2 separate regions of the Homo sapiens genome follow, and region 1 is linked to region 2. The links are contacts of gene promoters, found by promoter capture Hi-C in blood cells and fetal thymus (Javierre and others, 2016). All regions are on one chromosome and are shown on one strand. The core of a region is centred on a gene start or on the middle of the fragment in contact, and the rest is flanking DNA. Distances in the headings are between cores, read along the strand shown. Region 1 has its middle 24 kb from the start of KRTAP8-1. Region 2 holds the start of KRTAP21-1 (keratin associated protein 21-1).

Region 1 (4,492 bases), core at 528-3,027, 34 kb before region 2:
TTTTCTAGAAAATATTTTTTAGTATGTCATCTCCCTTTTAAATTTCTCCCTCGACTTCTCCCTTCAGAGCCACAATCTTGAAATGGCATTTCACACTGCCACTGCCTCACTTCCTACTCCCTCTTCAATTTATAGCAACTGAATCAACCTTCAACACTTCCCTGAAAACCTTTTTCTGTAAGATCATCAAAGAAATTCCAATTTATCAGATTCATTAACTATTTCTCATACCTCATGTCACTTTTTCCTCTGTAAAACACATGGAAACAGCTTTAAAAATTTTCTCTTCCCCAGAGTTCCATGATCATGATGGTCCTCATTTCCTTTTCCTCACGGATTCCCCTTCTGCATCAGCCCAGGCTAAGTTCATCTGAGGTAACCGACAACCTTAAAATTTCAGTGGCTTCTCCCAACATGAATTTATTACATATTAATGTAACATGCCCATTGCAGGATGTCAGAGGTGTGTTGTTAAAAAGTGACTTAGGAATCCCGGGGGCTGGAGACCCATCATGTACTGGCAGCATCATCTGCAAAAAGACTGACTTCCTTTGTCTTCGGTGGAAGAAAGAGAAACTAGAGAATCACTAACGCTGTTTGAAAGACGCACACATCTCTTTCCCTTATATATAACTGGCCAGAATTTGTCAAATGGCCCTATCAAATACAAGGCATTTGGGTGCCTACAATAAGAGAATATGAGATTGGTGAACACTAATAATATCTACCCTTCTCATAAATGCCTTCTCTTATTTCTTTAAGATAGTATCTAAAATATGAAATTAATATTTAATTAGATGCAAAGAATATAATTTCTGGCATATTTCAAATGTCGGCATCAGTCCGCTGTCTCACTGCTATAAAAAACTAGCAGCTGGGCACTTTATAAAGAAAAGAGTTTATACTGGCTCAGAGTTCTGCAGGCTACACAGGCTGCTGTTTCAGGGGAGGCCTCGGGAAACTTACTATCATGCTGGAAGGCTACTGGGAAGCAAGTGTGGTTTATATGGAAGGGGAACGGGGAAGAGAGAGTGAAAGGGAAGGTCCCATCGCCTCCCACTTGTTCCCACCTCCAACACTGGGGATTATAATTCAGTATGAGATTTGGTTGGGGACTGAGCCAAACCGTATCAATATTGTCACTTTAAAATAAAATTATTACCATACTTTAAAAATCTACCAGTAAAATGTAAGTATAATAGCCATTTGCTGTGCACTACTATTCATTGAAAAATCCTTAAGATCTTAAAAGAAATCTGCATCTTTTTTCTTCCTTGAACTTATCTTTCCATTGTCCTTTTCCCATAGAGTATTTTACTAATGAAATATATTTTTATAAGTATTTTATTAACTACTCTATCGTGCATCTTCTCAAAAATATTCACATAAAGATACAATTATAAATTTATAATGTATTTTTCCATACAACTTTATTTATTAATAAATTTTATTTCCTGTTCCCACAAAGCTATGTCTTAAAATTGTCCTTTTGGATTAGATTGTTGTTCAGTCAGCTAAGGCTACCGTAACAAAATTTCACAGGCTCGGTGGCTTAAACAACAGAAATTTATTTCTTACCATTCTGGAGGCTGGGAAGTCCAAGATCAAGGTGCTGGCAAGGTAGGTTTCATTCTGAGACCTCTTATCTTGGCTTGTAGATGGCCATCTTCTTGCTGTGTCCCCACATGGCAAAGGGAGAGAGAGACAGAGCGAGAGAGAGCACAACCCAGTATTCTATGAAATCTGGGCCCCCACGTTTGTCTTTATGGCCTCATTTAACCCTAATTACCTCATTACAGGGCCTCTCTCCAATGATAATAGTATTGAGGGTTAAGCCTTTAACATGTGAATTTTGGCAGGAGACACAATTCAGCCCATAGCAGTTATCATAATTATTACTACATTTCATTGATATTTAGGTGCATATGTTTTCACATTTTAATATTTTGGAAATTGTGTGCATTTAACAAGTGATGTGTGCCACTGCATTTTCTTTTTTAAAAATTTTATTGTGTGTATTTGAGGTATACAATGTAATGTTATGGGATACATGGAGAGAGTAAAATGGTACTACAGTGAAGCAAATTAACATAGCCATCATCTGACAAAAATATCCTTTTTTTTGGTGGCAAGAACAACTAAAATCTAATCATTTAGCAGAAATTCCAAGTACAGTACAATTTTATTAGCTATATTCCTCATTAATTGTTACCACAGAAGAGGGATAGAGGAAATGGGGAGAAGTAGGTCAGAGGTATAAAGTAGAGGATATGGGGGACAAACAAATCTAAAGGCCTAATGTGTACCATTGAATTTCCTTAATGGTGAATAAAATAATTGCATGCTACACATTTGGTGGAGTTTAGATTCGATAAAATGTAGCATAATGCATCATGCATCAGAGTGTCATAAAAATATTACAAATACAATAGTTACTAAAATATTAATAAAAATTGATATATAGCTCAATGATGAGACAAAAATAGATAGCTTTTTATTTAAAATTTACTATTTCACAGATTCTTGAACAACTATTCTTTGCTAGAATGAGATAAATTTCAGCATCAGTCCTACTCCTAGCTTTAGATCTCTAGATAGAAAACATCGGCGGCCTTGTTTCTACAGGTAAGCAGACAAAATGGAGGAATTTTTGTTACAGCAATTGTGCTTGATTGTTTGACCTCTCCTGAGGTGTAAGCCAAAAGTAAATAATTATCTAACAACAAAATTATTTTAAATGATCTATTAATTGAAATGCAATTATCATTCAATTTCGTTGAAAGTAAAGTTGGCAAAATAACCCATTACCTATTTATTCAGTATATGGCTACATAATTTCTGAGAATTCTGCCTGCAATGGACTAAATATTTGTATCCCCACAGAACTTATATGTTGAAATCTTAACCCCCAATGTGGTGATATTAGGAGATGGGACCTCCTTTGGGAGGTGATTAGGTCAAGATGGTGAAGCTCTCATGAATGAGATTGTTGCCTTTATAAAAGGGACTCTAGAGAAGTCATACCCTCTTTCCACTGTGTGAAGATACAATGGGAAGACTGTGGTCCACACTCCGGAAGGGGGTCCACACCGGAACCCAACCATGCTGGCACCCTGATCTCAGATTTTCAGCCTCGAGAACTGTGAGAGATAAATTTCTATTAGTCATAAGTCACCCAGTGTATGGTACTTTGTTATAGCGGGCCAAATTGACTAAGATAATGCCAAAAAAAACTTTGTTGAGACTCATCAATTGACTATTAAGTAGTCCTATTACCCTCTAATTTAGACCCTGCTCAAGGAGACAGAATTAGACAAAACAGGCACCACCCTACTCCCCATAAAATTGGCAACTATGTAGTTTAAGGTTGTTTTTACCAGTAGTTTTGAACAAAATATATTCGAATAAACCCATTTATTTTTGGGCATCTCATAATGCCCTAGAGAGGTATGACTAATAGGCAGAAACAATTATGAGAATGGCCATAGATTCGTAATTTTATTTAATGGTGAATCATTGTTAAGTTTATACTTACGAATTTCACAGAAAAAAAAGGACATATCTGTATCTGGATGACGGAATTCTTCCTGGCCGAAAGCTGCAGCGTTTTCTAGATTGTACTTTGGGAACATGTTATTCTGCACTCTTACATAAGCAGATGCTCTGTTTTATGATAAAAATTAACAGAAAAAGGAAGATAATGTATTGACTAGGTATACACAGAATAAATTTAACATTTACTTTGGCTTCAGCTTCTGGAATTCTGAAGGACCTCATGTCAACTCCAATCTTATTCTTGATATCTCTGATCTTTTCATTATTCCTGGTCATATGATGGTTCCAAGCAGTGTGACAATGTCAGTTTTACAAAGAATGTTGTTACAATTTATAGTTATTATCTGAACATTCACTTTCAAATATAAACAAGCAGTCCAAAGGTAAATTGGACTGTTCATGGTTTTTTTTTTTTTTTTTTTTTGAGACAGAGTCTGGCTCTATCGCCCAGGCTGGAGTGCAGTGGCGCTATCTCGGCTCACTGCAAGCTCCACCTCCCGGGTTCATGCCATTCTCCTGCCTCAACCTCCCGAGTAGCTGGGACTACAGGCTCCCGCCACCACGCCCGGCTAATTTTGTTTGTATTTTTAGTAGAGTCGGGGTTTCACCGTGTTAGCCAGGATGGTCTCGATCTCCTGAACTTGTGATCCGTCCGCCTCGGCCTCCCCAAAGTGCTGGGATTACAGGCGTGAGCCACCGCGTCCGGGTGTTCATGCTTTTATATATTGAAATGCTAATCTGCTAATTGGAGTATTCATGATCATAAGAGAAATATGCCACAGTAATTAGTGACAACTGTGATTTTTGAATTAAAATTATTAAGAACAGATACGTATTTAAAGAGATGCCTACATTGAGGAGTGATCCAACTATTAGGAGAGCTTATGCTATCTAAATCAATGTTTCACGAACTTTAAGGTGGATTCAAATTATGTTC
Region 2 (5,003 bases), core at 35-2,534:
TTTCCAACTGAAGGGAAAATGTAATCCACAGTAGCAATGAGGAAAGGCATCCTGTAGAAAGTGATTCCAGATCTGACTTTTGATGTATAAACAGAAGGTTTTTTTGGTTGATAATTGAGGGTGATGAGAAAAATACTAATGGCAGAAAAAATGATACTAATTTTCCTCTTTTGTATCTTGAAAAGGTAAGTGTGATAGAGAGGATTGTTGGGAAGAAGGAGGGCACCTCGGATTTCAAAATCACGATGAATATTTTTGTAGAAGATTGAGAACTTGTAATAAGTGGGTAATTGAGAATTTTGAATGAGTAGTGTGAAATGCGTGTATGGAAACGGGACAAAATTTATTTTTGTGCTACTTTATATCATAGAAGGGTTAGTTGTTAATGGTGGGCTTTTGCTGTCAGTAACCTAAAATTGTCCACTATCCTTTAGCTTCTGAAGTAAATGTCCAAGGAATAGTAGTGAAAGGAGAAGAAAAATGGTTTATTAAATTCTAGGAATGTATCTGTATTTCATCATGCAAAACTTTGATGAAATCTGTATTGGAGGAAAGAACTGAGTTTCTGGTCGAATGAATTTTTTTACTTCCTTATCCAAATGAAGCTGTTTAGTTTTAAAAAGGCTCCTCAATGACAATTACTTATATAGCTGAAGAAATGGGAGACAAAAGGAGGGCTTCTCTGCCTCCCCAGGGTCTTGGTTTGCCTGGTGGATGGAAGGAAAATGTAGGAAGCACTTGCAGATAGCATACATTCTGGCTTTGAATGATCAGATGTGAATATGTTTCTTGGGATTTGAGGGAGGTTGGACAAGGGGTAGGTGTGGAAGTGCAGAGTGAGTTGGAGAAAGAAGTCTGGCAAGAAGTTGTAATGACTCAGGAAAGGAGATAGGAGTGTCTCCTTCCCTATGGGTAGAGGTAGACATTTTAGGAAAAAAGAGAGGAAAAAAAGGATAAAATTTTGTTATTATCCTCCCAAAACTTGTTATGTAAGATATAAATTTACTGATAGGAGATTTTGAAAATTAGTATCAGCTTTATATTTGGGCACATGATTTCATTGAGGCAGTTCTTTGGCAGAGCAGATTAAAATGATGTTCCTGAAATGAAACTAGAGTCTCCAAAATAATTGGCTCATTTTAAGCAAAATATTATTGATGGTCAACAGTGACTGGCACATAATAATTGATTAAATATTTGTTGCCTAAGTCAGGGAATGAGTGATATGCTTTGGCAATTACTGACAGTATATAAAGGTCTCAGGGAAGTAGAAGACATCCACACCTCAGAAGCATCTTCTTGAAACCCATCTCAATTCTCTCCTCTTGACAACATGTGTTGCAACTACTACGGCAACTCCTGTGGCTATGGCTCCGGCTGTGGCTGTGGCTATGGCTCTGGCTCTGGCTGTGGCTGTGGCTATGGAACTGGCTATGGCTGTGGGTATGGCTGTGGGTTTGGCTCCCATTATGGCTGTGGTTATGGAACTGGCTATGGCTGTGGATATGGCTCTGGCTCTGGCTACTGTGGCTACCGGCCATTTTGCTTTAGAAGATGCTATTCTTCCTGCTAAAACATCACTGTCGGAGGACCATTTGCTTCTAAAATGACACGTCTGAAGATAATGCTGATTCAAGGATTCGTACTCCAAGATTTCTATATCCAAGAATTACATGCTTGACAGAATCTTCGACCTCTAGCCTCACATTTCTTTGAATGAAATCATGGCCATAGGATCCATGGTGTCATCTGACTGTTTTCCAAATGTTATCTTTTGCTCCCTTAATCTCTGATTCTCTGTTATGACTGTGTTAATGATCATAACATCTACAGTTGCGGAAGTCAATCATTTGTAATAAAAATGGTTCTTTATTCCTAAAAATCTTTGTGTACTTGCTTGTGAATTACTCTTTCTTGGGGTGTTTTGGAATCTCTTGAAAATTGGGCTAACAGTATGTTGGCTGAACCTTAGGTACTTCCTTGATATAACGCAATTATTTCCTCTTATGCTTGCATCATAAATAATGTCTTCTCTACCTGCTTCTCATATCCCACATGCTCAGGTTCTCACATACCCAAGCACAAATCACAGAGTATTTCAGAACTGTGCTTTGGAAATGGCACTGAGTGTCTAGAATGGAGCTGGAGGGGGAAAGGGAGGCAAAGTGACACCTATTCAGGATGTTATGACAAAAGTCTCAGGGAGGAGATATAGCCTGAGTGCTTAAAGAAGTAATATAATCCCAGCACTTTGGGAGGCTGAGGTGGGTGGATCACCTGAGGTCAGGAGTTCGAGACCAGCCTGGCCAACATTGTGAAACTCTGTTTCTACTAAAAATACAAAAATTAGCTGGGCTTGGTGGTGCGTGCCTGTAATTCCATCTACTCAGGAGGTGGAGACAGGAGAATTGCTTGAACCCTTAGGAGGTGGAGGTTGCAGTGAGCCGAGATTGCTTGGGTGACACACTGAGACTCCATCACACACACAAAAAAAAGTAATGCAATAGGAGAGATCACTTCCAGGATTGTTGAAAATTTTGAGTCAGGGTCAAGTGTTAGGCAAGAGGAAATAAAAACCTAAAAAAGGGTAAGTTCAAAGAAAAAATATACTATCAAATGTATCTACATCTGACAAAAGTACAAATATATATGTTTGCTTACATGGAGGTTGAGAAATGCTATTTAATTCACTTAAATATTTTTGAATAGACACCATCCTGAAGACACAGAAGAAAAATTATAAGCAAATGTTCTGCTCTCAGAATGTTTATAGTCTAACAGATGAAGATTTAAAGAAGCAAAAATAGGCCAGATGTGGTGGCTCATGCCTGTTAATCCCTGCACTTTGGGAGGCTGAGGCAGGTGGATCACTTGAGGTCAGGAGTTCGAGACCAGCCTGGCCAACATGGCGAAACCCCGTCTCTACTAAGAATACAAAAATTAGCCAGGCGTGGTGATGGGCGCCTGTAATCCCAGCTACTTGGGAGGCTGAGGCACGAGAATCGCTTGAACCTGGGAGATGGAGGTTGCAGTGAGCCAAGATTGCGTCATTGCACTCCAGCCCGGGCAACAAGAGCAAAACTCTGTCTAAAATAATTAATAATAATAATAATAATAATAATGAAGCAAAAACTAATTATAACAAATTCAGACAGATAATTGCTATAGAGGGAATGAAACAGCTTAATGGAGAGGAGATTAAGGTTTGAAGTACTGGAGAGACAGCTCAGGGAAGTATCTTGAGGTTATGACATTTGAGCTCATAATACAACATTTCCAGCAGCAAAGAAAGACTAAAAAGGACAGTAGCAAATGCCAAGGGGGACAGCAGTTCATTAAGTTTTGGGTATGATGAAGGTGATGACACATTTTTCAGTTAGAAAAGAGCAAGGTCTAGTATCTTAATGGAGTTCTTTTTAGATTGGGGTGGTCATAAAAATGAGATTAAAGGGTCTGTTCTAGTTTCCTGGCTGACTTTCTGATGTGGAGTGTTTACTGCTTCTTTGATTCTGATTTTAGTGTCCTTTCCTCCAGTTCTAGACCATCCAAACTCTATCACTGAAATCTTACAACAGAGAAAGTCTTCTGGATTCAGTAGAAACTTGTTATAATCAGCAGTAATAAATGTGTCCCTGTTTCATCCACACAACAGGGACCATTACACCAAGTCTGGCTCTCTGAGGTCCCTGGAGCTGGGTGACCCCACAAAATGCCTGGCTCTAAGAAAGATAGCCCTACAATCAATATCAGCCCAGGAGGAAATCTATGTCCAGGATAGAATCTGTCCGACTGATGGACAATAGGGGTTTCTTCCAAGAGCAGGATAGCTTTCCCATCTGGAGTATTTGTGAGTCAGATCTGAGGACTAACTGTGCTGTCTGGAACTCTGAAGTTATTATAGTATTACAAGCAGTGGATAACACTTAACTTATCTTCAAAACCTGAAATATTGTGATTATCTCAGTTTAAGAAAATTTTGAGACATTCAGCTTGTGTGCAATGAGAAAATGGTGATAATGTTAACAGAGACAGAGATGATAAAATTAGAGAAGGTTTGTGTGTGTGTGTGTGTGTGTGTGTGTGTGTGTGTGTGTGTGTAGATGCTCATGTAGGTGTGGCCTGTTTGGTGGAGGTTGGGAAAAACGAATATTTGAATTCACATATGTAATCACATTATGGAGGAAAGGAAAAACTATTTATATTTCACAATACTTTCTGTGGTTGGAAAATGATTTAAGCTTCAAAGCTCCTTTAAAAAAAACACAAAAGTCTTTTTTTGGGATACATTATTACATATTGTAGAGGCTCTAAATTGTAAAATCTAAATTGTAAAATTTGTTCTTTAACAAACATTAAGATTCATGTTTCAGCTATGTGCTGTGATTGGTATGGAGACAGAGAGATAAAACACATAGTCCCTTCTAAGAATTCAGAATCTTCAGCTGGGCACAAAATACTAAATCATACATAGCAGGTATGCTTGTAGGTACGATGGTGTTACCAAGAAGAGCTCAAGGGGGAAACTTAAATCAGAATGTGGAAAGAGAAGGCTCGACAAGTGTCAGAAATTGCTTCCAAAGAATGATAGGAACAGAGCCATAAAGGATGAGGTAGATTTGGTCAGTTACAAGAGACGGAAAATGGAATTCAAGGCCAAGAAATTCAAGGAAAGAAGAAAATAAGCTGTCAGTTTATTGAAAGAGTAGGAGGCCCCACTGGGAAATTTTAATCAGTGTCCACTTCCATAAAAGAATTATCAGGTCTCTTGAGTAAGCTGCACTGTCTGATATGGTGCTACTAGCCAGCTGTTGAGTTCTCAAAATGGGGATAATTCAAAATGAAATGCGCTGTAAGTGTAAAATACAGAGTAGATATCAAAGACTTAATAGAAAAAAAAGAATGAAAGTATCAAATACATTTAAATTATTTGTTATATATTAAATGATAATATTTTGAGACATTAGGGTGAATACAATATGGTATAAAATTAATTCACCTGTTTC

What was found. The method cuts DNA at HindIII sites, captures the fragments that hold promoters and counts their contacts. A CHiCAGO score of 5 or more calls a contact.
Region 1: a contact is called between a fragment that was not itself captured here and the fragment with the promoter of KRTAP21-1 in region 2, in 1 of 17 cell types (neutrophils). The highest score is 5.2, in neutrophils.

What each region holds. Positions count from the first base shown.
Region 1 is chr21:30,786,952-30,791,443 of GRCh38, reverse strand. No RefSeq gene overlaps it. Among named protein-coding and RNA genes, the nearest start is that of KRTAP8-1, 24 kb to the left of the region's middle. The HindIII fragment of the contact is 9,732 bases long and covers 1-4,492 here.
Region 2 is chr21:30,751,709-30,756,711 of GRCh38, reverse strand. It overlaps KRTAP21-1 (keratin associated protein 21-1), which reads left to right and starts at 1,284. Exons shown (of 1, transcript NM_181619.2): 1 at 1,284-1,697. The coding sequence starts at 1,334. The coding sequence ends at 1,573. The HindIII fragment of the contact is 7,815 bases long and covers 1-4,240 here.